Regions from separate parts of the Homo sapiens genome. Here regions 2 and 3 are each linked to region 1. The links are contacts of gene promoters, found by promoter capture Hi-C in human tissues and cell types (Jung and others, 2019). All regions are on one chromosome and are shown on one strand. Each heading gives the region's core, a stretch centred on a gene start or on the middle of the fragment in contact. The rest is flanking DNA. Distances are from core to core; before and after follow the strand shown.

The links. Contacts are between HindIII fragments. The study calls those that stand out against the background at their distance.
Region 2: a contact is called between a fragment that was not itself captured here and the fragment with the promoter of CA6 in region 1, in 3 of the 25 tissues and cell types used here (IMR-90 fibroblasts, lymphoblastoid cells and mesenchymal stem cells).
Region 3: a fragment that was not itself captured here is called in contact with the fragment with the promoter of CA6 in region 1 in 1 of the 25 tissues and cell types used here (adrenal gland).

The regions. Positions count from the first base shown.
Region 1 is chr1:8,944,553-8,947,219 of GRCh38, reverse strand. It overlaps CA6 (carbonic anhydrase 6), which reads right to left and starts at 1,352. Exons shown (of 8, transcript NM_001215.4): 1 at 1,255-1,352. The coding sequence starts at 1,333. The HindIII fragment of the contact is 10,958 bases long and covers 1-2,667 here.
Region 2 is chr1:9,254,384-9,257,050 of GRCh38, reverse strand. The region is part of intron 3 of H6PD (hexose-6-phosphate dehydrogenase/glucose 1-dehydrogenase); the gene reads right to left. Among named protein-coding and RNA genes, the nearest start is that of H6PD, 21 kb to the right of the region's middle. The HindIII fragment of the contact is 5,872 bases long and covers 1-2,667 here.
Region 3 is chr1:8,651,085-8,653,751 of GRCh38, reverse strand. The region is part of intron 2 of RERE (arginine-glutamic acid dipeptide repeats); the gene reads left to right. Among named protein-coding and RNA genes, the nearest start is that of SNORD128, 160 kb to the right of the region's middle. RefSeq lists an enhancer at 1,630-1,709. The HindIII fragment of the contact is 5,625 bases long and covers 1-2,667 here.

The DNA of each region.
Region 1 (2,667 bases), core at 103-2,602:
CTGTTTAGTGTCCACAAAGTCCACAGACACGGCCTTCTAGCTTTGGCTCACATGTGGACCAGAACCCATGTTGAATGCCAGGATTTTACATTTCACATTTTAAAAGTCTGGTTTGGGGCCTGGCGCGGTGGCTCACGCCTGTAATCCCAGCACTTTGGGAGGCTAAGGTGGGCGGATCACTTGAGGTCAGAAGTTTGAGAACAGCCTGGCCAACGTGGTAAAACCCCATCTCCACTAAAAATACAAAAGTTAGCCAGGCATGGTGATGAGTGCCTGTAATCCCAGCTACTTGGGAGGCTAAGACATGAGAATCGCTTGAAACCAGGAGGCAGAGGTTGCAGTAAGCCGAGATGGCACCACTGAACTCCAGCCTGGGCAACAGAGCAAGACTCTGTCTCAAAAAAAAAAAAAAAACAAAAAAAAAAACACCTCTCATTTTGGCAGCCCACAGATCAAAGGGAACTGGGTCCTTATGTCAAGATGTTCTGGGTAAACTGCCTACCATGAAATTTCCAAGAAAGAAGGTCTCGCAAACCCCACAGCACCTTCCGTGAGGTTACCGAGAGTCTTTTCTAAGAACTTTGTTTTCCACTTACACGGACCAACAAAGCAAATGGTTTTACAAATAGAAGCAGTGAGTGTGCTTTTGAACCAGCCAACACTGTGGATGGAAAAAAATTTAAAGCAAAAAGCCTGTAAGTAAATCAGGAGTTTGTGAAGGGGAAAGCTATTTCCTTCTTTTCCTTATTTGAAGTTTAAGTTCAGCTTATTCTCCATACCTTCTGAGACACTGAAAAGGTAACATCTGAAGCCACAATGAGCAGACCCCCAACATATGGCAAGTGGGCTGCCTGGCCATCCTGTGAAATGCCCTAAAGGAGGACTCTTGGCCGGGCGCAATGGCTCATGCCTGTAATCCCAGCACTTTGGGAGATGGGCAGATCACCTAAGGTCAGGAGTTCGAGACCAGCCTGGACAACATGGTGAAACCCTGTCTCTACTAAAAATACAAAAATTAGCCAGGCATGGTGGCAGGCACCTGTAATCCCAGGTACTCGGGAGGCTAAGGCAGCAGAATCACTTGAACCCGGGAGGCGGAGGTTGCAGTGAGCCAACATCACACTACTGTACTCAAGCCTGGGCAACAGAGCAAGACTTTGTCTAAAAAAAAAAAAAAGAAGAAGAAGAAGGGCACTTGTCCTGTTGTAAGGGTGTGAGGGTAACTGGGGGAGCATGCAGAAGCTAGGGGCTCACCTGAGTAGGTCCAGTCAGACACATGCTGGGCCTGGCCACCCAGCAGGAACAGGGACAGCAGAAGCACCAGGGCCCTCATGGTGCTGCACATCTGTAATGAAGACTGATTCCGGCGAAGCTCTTCTTTTAAAGGCTCAGAAACTGTAAATAACAATTTACAATTGATCTGCCCAGCTGGCTAAACCACCCTTTGCTGCACCCACTAAAACAATAACACCCTCCCCATAACAGCACTTCTGGCTCCGTGCATTGCGCCAGGCAGCCCCAGCACCTGCCTGATCTCCTCCCACGTCAATTTCATATCCGGTCAGTCCATGGGTTTGGTTGTTCAGTGTCTTAGGAACACCTGAAGAGCCACACAGTGCAGCCATTGTGGACAGGTGACCGCGGAAATGGGAAAAGGCCCAAGGCAGGGAGAAGCAGGATGAAAGACTTTCCTGGACGTCGGACTTCCCATGCTCTTTCTCCTGACATTAGAGATCTGGGGACTGCTGATGGGATCACCACTGCCTGCAAACCCTGCCCATCTCAGTCATGGACACAAGCCACCGCTGCAGACATGTGGCTGCCCTCAGCCAGGCATCCAGGGAGGTGGCCTGGCCTCCATGTTTGGACATTTCACGGTCCTCTCCTTAAACCAGTGGTTGATCCTGGGTCCCAGCTCATGAGCCACATTCCAATGTGTGCCTTTATGCCATTCAAGCTGGTGTGGGCGTCTGCATTTCTACATGGATTTGTTCTGACACCTGCAGGGCTCTTGGGCACACCTAAGCCAATCAGCCAATTGCCCTCGCAGGATCCATGGATTACCTAATCCTGTGTATTCACTTGGCTAGACAGTCCCTGAAATTAGCTGAAGGAGAAACTTTTGAGTTTATGCCTGCTGACAGGCCAGCATTTCCCATGCCCTTCCACAAGGTCAAACACAAAGGGTAGCCGGAGCTCCTGCGGGGGGGCTACCATGCTGCCGGACACAAAGGGCCACCCCTGCCTTGTTATGGGGAGCTGAACCCCCTCCTGGCCTAGCTTAACTCATTGTCCACTTGGTCCTGGAATGGCAAACGTCAGCAGGCCTTCACAACAAGGATGTTAGCGGTGAACGTAGGCCTCCCGAATACTTCTAAGACTCCCCACTGTCATTTAATAGGGAACATCAGCTGCTGCAAAGAACTTGCTGGAAACTTCCATTTCTAAAGCTCAAGAGCTGAAAGAATCTCAGAGAGAGAGCAAAGCATGTTCAAGGACAAGGATTCTGAAACTAGACAGGATCTGTGCCACCTGCTAACTGTGTGACCATGGGCAACTCAGCGCTCTGTGCCTCAGCTTTCCTTCCTTTTCTTTTTTCTCTTTCTTTCTTCCTTTCTCTCTTTCTTTTCTTTCTCTCTTTCTCTCTTTCTTTCTTTTTTGAGACAG
Region 2 (2,667 bases), core at 60-2,559, 310 kb before region 1:
CCTTACAGATGAGAAACAGCTGTAAAGAGTCAGCTAGCAGAAGACAGAGCTGAGGCGATTCTCCCAAATGCTGGACACAGAGACAAAAAGATCCATGCTCGGACACATACAGGATGACTCTTGTTCAAAATTAAACAACAGGTTGTTTAGGGAACCAGGCGTGCATGGAAACAGAAAGAGAAGCGAGGGAATAATCTATCCACAATTTGGAAGTGTAAGATGAGGAAATAGGTCAGAACGTGGGGAGGGACACGCAGGAGAATCAAATTCTTTTTTAAAAACGGGTGGTAGGTGCATCCCCGTTTCTTATACCATAGTTCTGTATCTCTTCCATGCATTCTGTAAACTTTAAATTTACCTAGTATCTAGTTAACATTTAATTCCAACAGACAAAAAGCAGCAGATCCTAAGTTCAGGCCTGCTGAGCCCAGCATGCTCCCCTCCCAGCAGCCACTCTGGGTCCATGGCGCCAGTCCTGGGCACCTGCCCTGACCAGGTTGGTGGTGTGCACTCTCGGGCCAACCAGACAGCAAGCATGTCCAGGTCATGGCTGGGGGAACAACCTGCCCTGAATCCAGCCCGATATGCCATTCCCGACAGCAGCACCAGTGTTGGGGGGCAAGAAATGAAGCCGGCAGCCACTCGTAGGAAGGCACTCTGTCCCCGGCCATAACAACCAGGAGCTAGAGGGTGCAGCTCTGTCCAGGGATACTAAACCTTGAAATGAGCAGGAAGTCCAGCCCAACTGTGCCAACCAAAATGCCAAGAGTGGTCTCCACTGGGAAAACAATGGCTGAGATCCCCCAGCTCTGTAGTGTTGTGGCCTTCAAGTTCTTGTGCTATTGTTGAGAAGACATCCAGAAAAAGAGAAACTGATGCCAGCAATGTTTGTGGATCAGTCCATTTATCCTCAGAATAACAACATATAAGGAGGCCCCTCTATTTCCCCTATTTTAAAATATAAGGAACCTGAAGTTCAGAGAGGTTGGATAACTTACCCAAGGTCACACACAGCTGGTAAAGAGGTAAAAATAGCTTCAAACCCAGGCAGTTCGACCCAGAGCCTGCAATTCTTACCACCAAAACATTTCCCTTTTAATTACCCACTCTTCAACCCTACAACAGAACGGTGTGAAGTTGAGTGGCGTGGGCACCACTGGCCTTTAGAAACAGAGCACAATGAAGAAGCCGGCTGAGCTTCTGGAAGGAGGGGTCTAGGGCAAAGCTCAGAGATTCCAATGCCTACCGGGGCCAGCAAAAGCGAAAAGGATGGAGTAAGGCTGGTGTCCCTCAGAGGTACAGTTAAGTACCTCAGGTGCATTCAGGTGGTGCCTCACAGGAGTGTGGGCCCAGGGTGACCAAATCTTCCAATTCTCCTTTTCGGGAGAATGTAAAAAGACAATTCTTCCCTTCCCCTGCAATAATAGAACAGGAAAATCAGGAATATCTTGCATTTGAAAGGGACCTAAGGCCTGGCACAGTGGCTTATGCTTGTAATCCCAGCACTTTGGGAGGCTGAGGTGGGCAGATCTCCTGAGTCCAGGAGTTCAAGACCAGCCTAGGCAACATGGCAAAACCCCATCTCTACAAAAAATACAAAAATTAGCTGGGCATGGTGAAATACACCTGTGGTCCCAGCTACTTGGGAGGCTGAGGTGGGAGGATCACTTAAGCCTAGGAGGTCGAGGCTGCAGTGGGCTATGATTGCACCACTGCACTCCAGCCAGGGCGACAGATAAAGACCCTGTCTCCAAAAATAAAAAATAAAAAATAAATAAATAAATAAGAGTTATTGGCCTCAAACAGTTAAACAGAGTCATGATCCTCCAGCAACCCCACTCCTGGGTTTATACTCAAGAGAAATAAAAATGCAGGTCCACACAAAAGCTTGTACATGAATGCTCATTGCAGCATTATATATAACAGCCAAAAAGTAGAGGCAACCCAAATGTCCACTAACTGGTGACTGGATAAATTATGGTATATCTATACAATAAGATATTATTCAGCAGTAAAAAGAAATGAAGTGCTGGTACATGCTAGAACATGGGTGAACTCTGAACTCAGGATGCTAACTGATGGAAACCACACACCGTATGATCCTATATGTACAAAATATCCAGAACAGGCAACCCCGCAGAGAGAATGCATTTCTGTGGTTGCCAGGAGCTGGGGAGAGGGGGAAATTGTGGGATGACAACGAAGGGGTACAGGGCTTCCTTTGCCGTGATGAACATGTCCTAAAATTGATTGTGGTACTGACACACAACTCTGTGAATACACGAAAGCTCACTGGCCTGTCCACCTTAACTGGGTAAAGTGTAGTAGGATTTGTGAGTTACAGCTCAATAAAACTTTTTAAAAAAGGTTTTAGAACAGGGAAGCAGAAGCACGAAAGAGGTACTTCAGGAAGATGAAGCTGTCTGCGACCTCCAAGATGAACAGGATGGGACTGGTGGTAGTGAAATCAGTGAGGCAGCCTTTGCTGCCATCAAAGGAAGTAACAAAGGTAGGAGGGAACGAAGTCACAGTGAACTGCAAAGAAGTTATTATAGCAGATGAATACAAACTACTTGGTGACTGGCTGGATCCTTGAATGGTGGTACAGAGCTGTGATCTGGAGTGTGGTCTCTGGAGCCAGGCTGCTCCAGTTTATTTTATCTTATT
Region 3 (2,667 bases), core at 74-2,573, 290 kb after region 1:
CTAAATCATGGGAAAGGAACAAAACATGTTAACCCTTTTTTTTTTTTTTTTTTTTTTGAGGTGGAGTCTCGCTCTGTTGCTTAGGCTGGAGTGCAGTGGCGCGATCTTGGCTCACTGCAAGCTCCGCCTCCCGGGTTCACGCCATTCTCCTGCCTCAGCCTCCCCAGTAGCTGGGACTACAGGCGCCCACCACTGCGCCCAGCTAATATTTTGTATTTTTAGTAGAGACGGGGTTTCACCGTGGTCTCGATCTCCTGACCTCGTGATCTACCCGCCTCGGCCTCCCAAAGTGCTGGGATTACAGGCGTGAGCCATCGCGCCTGGCCAACTCTTTTAGATATAGATTACATTATGATAACTTCAGTATAAGGAAAGATTTACTTTTTTATTATCCTTTCTCTTGATAACAATTTAATGTGGTAATACAGTTTGGATCACTGTCAAAAGGCAAGCTGCCTTGTGCAGTATTGAATGCTAACCTTTCTCAGCATTTATAATATGGAACGTTATTCTGGTGTCAGTGGGGACATTTCACCAAAAATAGTAGTCAAATATGTGTGGAAAATGCTGCCTGTACAGTCTCCCTCATGAGAGAGTCAGAATTAGTGACTCCAAGAAGCCCGACAGTTAAGGAAACCTCTTTAACATGAAAAACACCGGCTATTTTTCCCATTTATGGGACTGTGGCACCCTGTTTCTGCTGAGTATCTCCCTAAAAATAGAAATAAACCAACAAACCACAAACAGTCTTGGATCTGGGCACAGTGGCGTGTGCTTTTAGTCTCGGCTACTTGTGAGACTGAAGTGGGAGGATCTCTTGAGCACAGGAGGTCAAGGTTGCAGTGCTCTATGATTGTAGTGAAATTTTTACAAATTAGCTGGGCGTGGTGAACTATGATTATAGGAAGTCCTCCTGATAATGATTTGGCTGTGTGTCCTCACCCAAATGTCACCTTGAATTGTAATAATCCCCACGTGTCAAGGTCGGGACTAGGTGGAGATAAATGAATCATGGGGGCAGTTTCCGCCATCATGTTCTTATGATAGTGAGTGAGTTCTCACAGGATATGATGGTTTTATAAGGGGCCTTTCCACCTTTGCTCAGCCCTTCTCTCTCTTACTGTCATATGAGAAGGATGTGTTTGTTTCTCTTTCCACCATAATTGTAAGCTTCCTAAGGCCTCCCCAGCCCTGTGGAATTGTGGATCAATTAAACCTCTGTCCTTTATAAATAACCCAGTCTGAGGCAGTTCTTTATAGCAGCGTGAGAATGGACTAATACACCTCCCTTCTTGAGTCTGGAAGAATATGTGAAGGGAGATTGCTAAGGACTTATTTACAGAATGGTTCTTAAAGTGCTTGGGCAAGAACTATGTATTTGTGGAGGCTGGTAGTGTTTCAGTGAATCTGAAAACCTTTGTGACATGTGAGAAAGGTATGCTGTCTCTGAAAGCTAAGTGTATTATGAAGGATCTATAAAGGCCACACATGGTTTGGAAGATTTCCGTGGCACCCAGAGCAAGACAGCTCCATGTGAGGCACCCTTTTGCTTGAGTGGGGGCTGTGCCTTTGCATCCTGCCAGGTCCAGTGGATGTCTATTTGGTAAGGAGACTGTCTTTGACCTTCTCAGTGGTTTCCTTTCGTTTTGGTGATGGATTTGAAGCTGAGTTAGCTGCCTTCTCCAAACAGCTTTTTCTCTAAATGAGTATTTGTTAAATATTGTCTGTTCTTTAGGGTTACTTAAACTGAAGAATCAGAAGTAGGGTGCTGGGCTGGGCAAGGTGGCTCACACCTGTAATCCCAGCACTTTGAGAGTCTCAGGTGGGAGGATCACTTGAGGCCAGGAGTTTAAGGCTGCAGTGAACTACATGCCATTATATTACAGCCTGGGTGACAGAGCAAGACTGTCTCTTAAAAAACAAAAAACAAAACCAAAAAAACCAGCAGAGTACTGTGATTAGATTCCCAGATGGGGGTTGAGTTTTTTCTTTCCTTTGTTTTGTTTCCTGATTTTTTTTTTTTTTCTTTTGAGACAGGGTATTGCTCTGTCATCCAGGCTGTCAGTGGTATGATCACAGCTCACTGCAGCCTTGACCTCCCAGGCTCAAGTCATCCTCCTGCCTTGGCTTCCCAAAGTGCTGGGATTATAGGCCTAAGCCACTGCACCTGGTCTTTTACTTTCTTGATATAAACTACTACAATAACATCCTTTGTTAGTGATGAAAAACCATTATCCTCACCCACTTGCAGAGATCCTGTGTGCTTAGTTGTATCTTAAAAGCTTAGGATCTGTGGAGAATGTTGTAAAGGATATCTTCAATGGATTACTAGCTTAAAAAAAAACAGAGAGTCTCACTCTGTCGCTCAGACTGGAGGGTAGTGGCGTGATCATAGTTAACCACATCCTCGAACTCCTGGGCTCAATTGCTTCTCCTGCCTCAGCCTCTTGAGTAGCTAGGACTACAGGTGTGCTTACACCTGGCCTATTAACAATTTTTTTGTAGAGATGGGGTCTTGCTATGTTATTCAGGCTGGTCTTGAACTCCTGGCCTCAAGTGATCCTCCTGCCTCCATCTCCCAAAGTCTTGGGGTTATAGGTATGAGCCACTGCATCTGGCCAAATTACTAGTTTTTAAATGGTAGATTTTTTTTTTTGAGACGTAGTC